Linked DNA regions of Homo sapiens: region 2 is linked to region 1. Evidence: promoter capture Hi-C in 16 types of primary human blood cells and fetal thymus (Javierre and others, 2016). All regions are on one chromosome and are shown on one strand. The core of a region is centred on a gene start or on the middle of the fragment in contact, and the rest is flanking DNA. Distances in the headings are between cores, read along the strand shown. Region 1 holds the start of UQCRC2 (ubiquinol-cytochrome c reductase core protein 2). Region 2 has its middle 53 kb from the start of NPIPB4.

Region 1 (5,172 bases), core at 1,025-3,524:
AGTTACTGGTAGGGTGAAAGGGTCCCATTAAATATTAGATAATGGACCCAAAATGCATTCATTTTATTCAGTTTGTTTTGGCAAATGTTATACAATGCCATACAAATCATTCTGATTATGACTAAAGTTCATGAGGTTATTAGAGGAGATGATGAGTGAATAAAATTTGGTGCTCCCAAGACCCAATGAACACCTCCTCACTGGAGTTTCCCGGACATCCCTGCACAGTCTGCAATGCCTCCACTCTGTGCTGTCCAGAAGGCTGTTTGTTGTACATCATTAGTGCTGTACTAGGTTGGCTGCTGGTTATCACTTGCTTTTAGTACTGCTTTTCAGTTATGAATTACAATTAGCTTTACTTTATCGTCATCAATTTAGTTTGCTGGGTATGGTATAGTTAACCTTCTTTGTAATTTTGGCCTATAATTTTCCAAAAAGTAAACTTTTAAGATATATGGGCATAGCAATTCAAATATGAATAATCTATAATTCCGTTACCAAGTGAGATTTTAGGTGTTTTCCAACCAAATGTGCCCAAATAGTAACTCTTTGTTGGTAATTTTTTTTTTTTTTTTTTTTTGAGACGGAGTCTCGCTCTGTCGTCTAGGCTGGAGTGCAGCGGTGCGATCTCGGCTCACTGCAACCTCCGCCTCCTGGGTTCAAGAGATTCTCCTGCCTCAGCCTCCTGAGTAGCTGGGATTAGAGGCGCCCACCACCACCACGCCCGGCTATTTTTTTTTTTTTTGTATTTTTAGTAGAGACGGGGTTTCACCATGATGGCCAGACTGGTTTCGAACTCCTCATCTCAAGTGATCCGCCTGCCTCTGACTCCCAAAGTGCTAGGATTACAGGTGTGAGCCATCGCGCTCCGCCGGTAATGTGCTTCTTAATCGTCCCATTCAAATCAGCAAATTATCCTAGTAACTGTCATGCAATCTTCTAAATTATTTTGTTCTAATAACAAGATATATCTAAGTTTATTCTCCTATATAAAGTGCTAAAATTAGACACATAAATAATTGCTTTCAAGTTTACTGCAATTTGTTTACTTTGGGCCTCTCCAACTGTTTTCTCTGAGCTTTTTCTGTTGCAAAATAGAATGGAGAAGGAAATGTTGGGGTCTTTTGCCAATCTAACCGTGCTTCCCTCCAAGGGTAATCACTGGTGTGTCTAGGTATACCTGGAAGGTTAATGCAATTACAGCCTAAATCGATATAGCCCACAGCACATTTATGTAAACATAAAGCATAAGAACATTCCATGCCCAGGTCTGGTCTTCTGCATCTCCATCTAGGGGGGTTTCTCAACACAGGTACTACTACTGGCACTTGGGGCTAGATAATTCTTTGCTGTAAGGCGAAGTTTAGCAGCATCCCTGGCCTCTCCATGCCAATAGCACCCTCCTTACAAGTTGTTGCAACTAAATATGTCTCCAAACATCGCCACCGGTTCCCTGGGGGCATTCTGTCCCTCGCTATGATTTTTTAAGTGTTCCCCCTTACCCCTCTTAATAACCACTGTCCCACAGTGATATAACCCTGATGTGTGAGTTTTCCCCAAGTGACAGCTATGTTTAATTTAGGCTTGAAGGGGAAACTTAATTAAGGAGCTTTTGAGGACAAACAGAGACGTCTTGGAGGAACCGTCTAACATACGATCAAGAAAAGCAACGTTAGACTACTAAGACACCATAGTATTTAACAATGAAGTTCCAGGTACTGTAATAAGTGTTCTATCTGCATTAGCTCCTTTCTTATACTTTTATTCGCTGGGGAAACTGACGCTCCGTGATAAACCAAGGAGCAGAGGCTGCAGCGGATAAAGTGAAGGTGGGGGGCTAAGTGCGCCGTCCTCCCGCTCCCCCTGGGTTTCACGGTCTCTTTCTCCAGCACTTGAGTACCGGAGTGACCTTCAGAAGTCTCTCCAAGGACTCGCTTCAACTCCGCTCTCACGTCCTGCCCCTCTCTTCAGGTTTCCCGGTGTTAGGTCTCTTGTGCTCACAGCATGAGCTGGGCCTCCAAAGCCTGACCCAGTCTGCAGCCCACTTGGCCCGCAGGGTTCAGCTGAAGGGCAGACCGAATCCCAAGGCCCAGACCCCAGACCAGACACCTCCGCCTCGTATCACCTTGTCGACACACTGCTCCCCAGCCCTTTCCCAAACCCGCCACCTGAGCTCACCGAGAAAGAGCCGGCTCTGGTTAGTAGCTTCATGATTCAAGATTGTTCTGACACACGGTCACTGCCGGATTAAAGGAAAGCAAGATGGTGGCGGAGGCCGGGAGTTTCCCAGCGTTCCCCGCTAACACTTTCCCACGTCCCCTTCGTGAGGTACTCTCTATACTGCCGCGCTCTACTGCTCTCTTTATAAGGTTGGACCAGTCCAATTCCTCCAAGACTCAGAATAGGGAGACGCACAATTTCCCAAGTAAATATATGCAGAGAATAATGTACGTCACTGCTTTTTGCGTTCTTCTCCTAGCCTGAATATCCAGTATGCACCCCTTTTCTAAGTACGTCTGCAGCAGCCTGTCACAACTCCCCCCGCTATCTTGGGCTCTTCCGCTCAGCATTGTCCAATGGGACGCGCCTCTCTTGGGACTCCGCATGCGCCCTCCGGGATGACACCTGCACTGGAGGCCCTGGGTTTCCGCGTTCCTGGACGTTGGAGGCTTCAGGAGATTCCTGCCACTCCACCTTTCTGCAGAGGTATTGGGTATCGAAGCCCGGCGTAGTTGCCTCTCGCTGGGTGAAGTCCTTACTGGATCTTTAGCTCCGTGAAACAGGGGCCTCGTTCAACGTATTCGCCGCTGTGTCCCCCAGAGCAGGCCCGGGACACACCGGGAGGGTCAGCAACCTCGGGGAATCATCACAAGGCTTTTGGTCTCGTGGAATTTACGTCCTAGGCTGGGGCTACATAGAATATAAAAACTTAGCTATAGTTTTTGTGTTAGGAAAATAGAAATGTTTTGGATAGTAGGTGTGTTATGTGAGCCGAAACCGGCAGTTGGAGAAAGTCAGTCACGTGACGACTTGGGGCGGGGGCGTTCACTCCGGTCCTCAGCGAGTGTTAACCCAGAAAGTGCCTTGAGCTAGGCACTATGCCAACGCGAGAGGCGTGGTCCCTGCCCTTTAGGGACTTTAGAGTTTCGTACCTTGCTACGTTGCTTGGTTGGGAAACCGACAGTATCAGCATCAATATCATTTAGGAGTTGATTAGAAATGTATGAACTCCAGGTCCCATATTGGATCCGAATCGGTGTTTTTACAAGATCCTGGGATGACTTCGTATGCACAATAGTTTCAGAAAGGCTGGTGGTGTAGACGTTACAAGGCATAGGCAAATGTACTTTCTTTTTGCCTTGTGTCTGAATTGCTCCAGGCCTACAACGGACTTGGGCTCTCTAATTAAGATCTGGGCATTAAGAACCTGGCACCAACCCAATTTCTGTGCCTGCTGGGGACGCCCTCAACCCAATTCATACCACACAGTTTCCCCACATGTGGTAGATTTAACACTAGTGGTGCGTGAGATGATTTTAAGTTGGTACATAGATGAACACTTCCATTTTTTCCTTTTAAAAATTTGTATAAATTTAAGGGGCGCAAGTACAGTTATGTTATATGGATATATTGCAGTAATGGTGAAGTCTGGGCTTTTAGTGTACCCATCACCCGAATAATGTACATGGTACCCATTAAGTACTTTCTCATCGTTCACCTCTCTCCCACCCCTCCACCTTTCGGAGTCTCCATTGTCTGTCATTCCACACTCTATGTCCATGTGTACACCTTATTTAGCACTGTTCCATTTTAATAATATATTTATTTTGATTATGGCAAGCAATGCTAGTAGTGAATTTCCTCTTTAAGTACATTTATAAAATAATAAAAGTTGGTGTAAAAACGTTAAGTAACTTGATGATACGGAGATACAGCAAAAATCATGAATGTGTTATACAGGTACCATTGAGTGAAATCTGGGAAGCAGTGCTCTGATCAAGCCACCTGCCTGCTTAAAATTCTTCAACGACAGCCACGTTTTTCAGGATAAAATTCAAATTCATTAACATGGCATACAAAGCTGTCTCCAGTACTTCAAAACCCCAATTCCCAAGTTAGCTAGCTGCACCCCTGAGTCCAATCATTGTAACTTCATCATTCAACAGTTCAGGTCAGGTAGGAGGAACACAAAAGTCTCCACACTCAAGTGCACACACACACACACACACACACACACCCACACCTGCTTATAATGTCCTCTCATTCTTAGGTTATGACCCAATATCAGAAAGGGGCAAAAATAAATTCTGTTCAAAATGTGGCAGGATTTGAAACATAATTCATGATATCAGCTACATAAATCATAAAATCCCAAGTTTGTCAATTGCAAAATGTCCTATTAAGCATTAAGCTACAAATTAGGAGTGCCATCTTGTGGACACATCCACCACTTCCACATCATGTCACCTCCTAGCCAACTCCGTGGCTGTTCTCACTGTGGAGGTCTCTGCCACAACTCCAGCATTTTATTGCAGAAGAAAACCCAGTCCTTGAACTGGTTTCTGCGTAGAACACACTGAAAGCCCTGGGAGAGGAAACCAGCAGACAGGAAAAGAGTAGACATGGAAGAGCAGATGAGTTCATTGCTGGAAAGCTCGAATTGTTAGTTTCGTTAATGTGGGGTCCAATTTGACTCTATGGAGCCTAACTACCTAGCCTGAGCGCTCGCGGTGAGTATGGGGTGGGAGAATGTAAAGAGAAAGCAGGCAACAGTAGGAGTAAAACACACCAGAGGAAGGTGATGTGGGTTTATACTTGGGAACAACATTACCTTGCCATCTTAGGGCCAGAGGCATTAATCATGGCTTCCCCAATGCATAATTTCGATGTTGGCATTTCCTTCCCCATTCCTTTCAGAATCCTACCCTGTCAGGTATTATCTCTGATGAAATATTCCCTGGGCCAGGCACAGTGGCTCATGCCTGTAATCCCAGCACTATGGGAGGCCAAGGTGGGTGGATCACCTGAGGTCAGGAGTTCAAGACCAGCCTGGCCAACGTGGCAAAACCCTGTCTCTACTGAAAAAAAAATACAAAAATTAGCCGGGCATGGTGGCAGTTGACTGAAATCTTAGATACTCGGGAGGCTGAGGCAGGGAGAATTGCTTGAACC
Region 2 (5,172 bases), core at 897-3,396, 150 kb after region 1:
CACATGAAAAGAAGCTCAACATCATTAGCCATCAGGGAAATGATTTCACTTAATGCCCACAAGGATGGCTATAATCAGAACGAGAAGACAGTAACAAGTGTTCACAAGGATATGGAGAAATGGGAACGTTGGAACTGTCATATGTTGCTGTGAGAATGTAAAATGGTGCAGCCGTTTTGGAAAATAGCCTGGCATTTCTTCAAGGTTAAATGTAGAATTAACACGTGACTCAGCAGTTCCATTTCTGGGTTTATACCCAAGAGAAATGAAAATATATGTCCACAGAAAAACTTGTACATGGATGTTCATAGCAGCAGCATCCATAATAGCCTCAAGTAGAAGCAACTCAAATGTCTGTCAACTGATGAACAGATGACAAAACATGGTACAATGGAATATTACTCAGCAATGAAAAGGAATGCTTTATATGTTACAACATGATTGGACCCTAAAAACATGCCAAAAGGCTGTGTATTATATGACTCCATTGATAGGAAAGGAATGGTTTACATGTTACAACATGATTGAACCTTAAAAACATGCCACAAACTGTGTATGACTCCATTGATATGAGAGGAATGGTTTACATGTTACAACATGATTGAACCCTAAAAACATGTATTATATGACTCCATTTATATGAAATGTCTCAAAGAGGCAGATTCATAGAAAGACTAGTGGTTGCCAAGGTCTTCATTTTTTAGGGGTGCACTAATGGATGTAGGATTTCTTTTTAGAGTGATTAAAATGTTACAAAATTGCTGGCTGGGTGCAGTGGCTTATGCCCATAATCACAGCACTTCGGGAGGCTGAAGTGGGAAGATCCAGGAGTTGAAGACCAGCCTGGGCAACATAGTGAGAAAATGTCTCCCTAAAAGGAAGAATTAACCTCATGTGGTGGTGTGCACCTGTAGTTCTAGCTACTAGGGAGGCTGAGGAGGAAGGATTGCTTATCCCGGGAATTCAAGGTTGCAGTGAGCTATGATTGCACCCACTGTACCTCATCCTGAGAGAGAGAGCAAGACCCTGTCTCTAAAAGAAAAATAAATGTTCTGAAATTGATTATGTTGACGGTCACATAACTGAATATATTAAAAACTTAAATTGTATACTTTAAGTTGGTGATTGTATGATATATGAGTTTTATCAATACAGCTACTTAAAAACCTATAGTTATGCAAATTAAAAATTTCATTTACTGGGGATAATTGAAATGATTATACCGAACATAATACATGTAGAAACAGTATAGTTTTTGTATTGCTGGATAGTCTGTTTTTTTCTTTTTCAATATTTGAAACTAAAGGTCATGTAATTGATGTTTTTCTTACATAACTGTGAAATATTTATTCTCTGTTGAAATGTTTTATCTTACGTTTTCTCCTTTAGGAATGTTACGTTCATAACTTACTAAGGATTAGTGTATATTTTCCAACCTTGAGGCATGAAATTCTGGAGCTTATTATTGAAAAACTACTCAAGCTGGATGTAAGTATTGAGTAATCTATTTTTATTTTCTTTTTTTTATTTTTTATTTTTTTATTTTCATTTACTGACTTGAATTTGTTATAATCACAGTATGTGGAAACAATAGTCAGTGATAGAAAAGAATCCACTTGGCCAGGCATGGTGGCTCATGCCTTTATTCCCAGCACTTTGGGAGGCCGAGGCAGGCAGATCACCTGAGGTCAGGAGTTCAAGACCAGCCTGGCCAACATGGCGAAACCCCGTCTCTATAAAAAAAAAAAAAAAAAATTAGCCAGGCATGATGGTGGGTGCCTGTAATCCCAGCTACTCAGGAGGCTGAGGTGGGAGAATTGCTTGAATCCGGGAGGCAGATCTTGCAGTGAGCTGAGATCGTGCCACTGCACTCCAGCCTGGGCGACAGAGCGAGACTCCATCTCAAAAAAAAAAAAAGAAAAGAAAAGAAAAGAAACCACTAGCACCATTCTTTGCTTCCTTTCTTTGAATGTGTCTTGAACTCCATCTGTGCATGTGCTGGGAGTTGTAGACAGTTCCTTCTCATGATTGGAGAACAAGGCGTTAAATACATAGTTATCCAAATGTAAAAGTATGGTTGTGGAAAATGCCATGAATGAAACATACATTATGAGTTAGAGAACCTGATAGAATCACAGTGGGGTCAGGAAGGGATTCCTACGGAAGTGATTTTTCCTGTTTGGCCTTTCTTAAGGGCAGATTATAATTATAAACAGTTAAAACTTTGTTTAAGGAGGCCCGCACTAAGGTGCAGTGGGAATGAAAGGAAGTGGTAGATTCTAGTGACATTGTGAGGAAAGGTGAACTGGTCCTTGAGACTGGTTTGGAGGAGGGGAGGCAGACAGTAAGGGAAAGGAATCCTTCAATAGTTGCTCCCTGTGGAATCGAATCTTGGTGTTGCCATTAATGGTAGTTAGAAATATGAAGAGGAGGCTGGGTGTGGTGGCTCACGCATGTAATCCCAGCACTTTGGGAGGCCGAGGCGGGCGGATCACGAGGTCAGGAGATCGAGACCATCCTGGCTAACATGGTGAAACTCTGTCTCACTAAAAATATAAAAAATTGGCCGGGTATGGTGGTGGGCACCTATAGTCCCAGCTACTCGGGAGGCTGAGGCAGGAGAATGGTGTGAACCTGGGAGGTGGAGCTTGCAGTGAGCCCAGATTGTGCCACTCTGCTCCAGCCTGGGTGACAGAGCAAGACTCTGTCTCAAAAAAAAAGAAAAAAAAAATATGAAGAGGAGGCAGTTGGAAGAGTAGTTCCATCTTGGCCAGGTTCAGTTGCTGGTGGGCAGCCTACCAGAGAATACTCACAGGCAGTCGTGGCTGCAGATGGGGACCTGAGCATAAACCTTTGGAAAGATGCAGTTTAGGACAGGGGAGGAGAAGGGTGATCAGAAGTATGGGGAAAACCAAGAGTCTGGATGCTCAGGAAGAATCCGCTGGAAGGAGGAGTTTGGTCAGCAGCATCAGATACTGCTGTCATTTTTTAGAAAGATGAAAAGAGCAACAGTCCTTGGATTTAGTGGTTAGAAGGTAGTCTTTGTTGCTTTCTGGAGGACCATGTCAGTGAAGACGCAGAAACTGCATTTCGGGAGAGGATGTGGATGGTGGGGAAGCAGAATTGGGGCTGTTAGAGACCTTGGTGCAGGGTTGTGGTGGAAGGAGGGGATGGAGCAGGGCTAAGAGGCGTGGTTTAGGAGTGGGGAGATGTGAGCAGGTTTGTGGACTGAGGGGAGAGGAGCTTTGGTGGAGGAAAACATTGATGCTATAGGAAAGCAGGAAGATGGAACAAGGTCTTAGAAGAGCTGGAGCTTGGGCTCACTGGTGCAGTGCTCCCTTGGAGTTGCACCTCTCTGGCCAACTGTATATGTACTCTTTATAGTCTTTCTCTGGTATATACTTAAGGAACATTTTAGAATGTTTACAAAGAAGGTCAGGCATAGTTAATAAAAAATGGCATGGTTTGAGTGGTATGTTAAGATATTTGAATGGTGATATACCAAAATAAATATTGCATCATGCACATTTGGCTTGCAGTTCATCATTTTTCTGCTCAATTGATTGACGATATGTTTATTACACAATGTGTCTGTGAGTGTCTTGTGCATAGAGATTGTATTAGTCCATTTTCACACTGCTGATAAAGACATAGCTGAGCCTGGGAAGAAAAAGAGATGTTTTTGTTTGTTTGTTTGAGATGGTGTCTCGCTCTGTTGCCCAGGCTGGAGTGCAGTGGTGCGATCTCGGCTCACTGCAACCTCCACCTCCCGGGTTCAAGCAGTTCTCCTGCCTCAGCCTCCTGATTAGCTGGGATTACAGGCACGTGCCACCATGCCCGGCTAATTTTTTGTATTTTTAGTAGAGATGGGGTTTCACTGTGTTAGCCAGGATGGTCTCAATCTCCTGACCTCATGATCCATCCACCTCGGCCTCCCAAAGTGCTGGGATTACAGGCGTGAGCCACTGCACCTGGCCAAAAAAGAGGTTTAATTGGACTTACAGTTCCACATGGCTGGGGAGCCCTCAGAATCATGGCGGGAGGTGAAAGGCACTTCTTACATGGTGGCGGCAAGAGAAAATGAGGAAGATGTAAAAGTGGAAACCCCTGATAAAACCATCAGATCTCGTGAGACTTATTCACTATCATGAGAACAGTATGGGGGAAACCTACCCTATGATTCAAATTATCTCCCACCAGTCCCCCCCCCAACAACATGTGGGACTTACAGGAGTACAATTCAAGATGAGATTTGGGGCCAGGCGTGGTGGCTCATGCCTGTAATTCCAGCACTTTGGGAAGCTGAGGCCGGTGGATCACCTGAGGTCAGGAGTTCGAGACCAGCCTGACTAACATGGAGTAACCCCATCTCTACTAAAAATACAAAATTAGCTGGGCACAGTGGCACATGCCTGTAATCCCAGCTACTCAGGAGGCTGAGGCAGGAGAATCTCTTGAACCTGGGGGGCGGAGTTTGCGGTGAGCCAAGATCTTGCCATTGTATTCCAGCCTGGGCAACAAGAGCAAAACTCTGCCTCAAAAAAAAAAAAAAAAAAAAGTGAGATTTGGGTGGGGACACAGAGCCAGACCATATCAGAGCTAGAATAAATGTTGAATTTGTTGAGGCTACCTGACATAGAGCATCATGTGATAGTTGTCGATTTTATATAAGTATGTAGTAAAAGGGGCTTGGTTTATTATATTTAAATTCCTTCATGACCTAGGTCAGTTTACAGGCTTGCACCATAATTGTGTATTGTGTTGGGGTGTGATATAAGGCACTAATCTGGACACCTTGAACGTGTGTATATCAGATGAATTTCCATCCCAAAATAACATAGTTGTATTTTTTAAATCCTTTTATTCTTTTTTCCCCCCCCTTTGTTATAGGTGAATGCATCCCGGCAGGGTATTGAAGATGCTGAAGAAACAGCAAATCAAACTTGTGGTGGGACAGATTCCACGGAAGGATTGTTTAATATGGTTAGCAGTTTATTAATGAAAGTGGAGATGAAGTTTATCATAATCAAAGGGTGGAAACAGCTAGTGCTGCTCATCTTTGTTAAGGCTTTAGATTGAAAGAATTAAAATAGTTTAGCAAACTTGAAAACGATTCCTTATATGAGTAATTTGCTGCCATGTCATTTAGCACTTAGCATAATTGGTCTATTT

The links. The method cuts DNA at HindIII sites, captures the fragments that hold promoters and counts their contacts. A CHiCAGO score of 5 or more calls a contact.
Region 2: a contact is called between a fragment that was not itself captured here and the fragment with the promoter of UQCRC2 in region 1, in 1 of 17 cell types (naive CD8 T cells). The highest score is 5.0, in naive CD8 T cells.

Annotation. Positions count from the first base shown.
Region 1 is chr16:21,950,463-21,955,634 of GRCh38, reverse strand. UQCRC2 (ubiquinol-cytochrome c reductase core protein 2) reads right to left here and starts at 2,274. Exons shown (of 14, transcript NM_003366.4): 1 at 2,179-2,274. The coding sequence starts at 2,211. RefSeq lists enhancers at 1,932-1,981, 1,992-2,161, 1,676-2,393, 2,482-2,941. The HindIII fragment of the contact is 11,485 bases long and covers 1-5,172 here.
Region 2 is chr16:21,802,447-21,807,618 of GRCh38, reverse strand. It overlaps the pseudogene RRN3P1. Among named protein-coding and RNA genes, the nearest start is that of NPIPB4, 53 kb to the left of the region's middle. The HindIII fragment of the contact is 9,470 bases long and covers 1-5,172 here.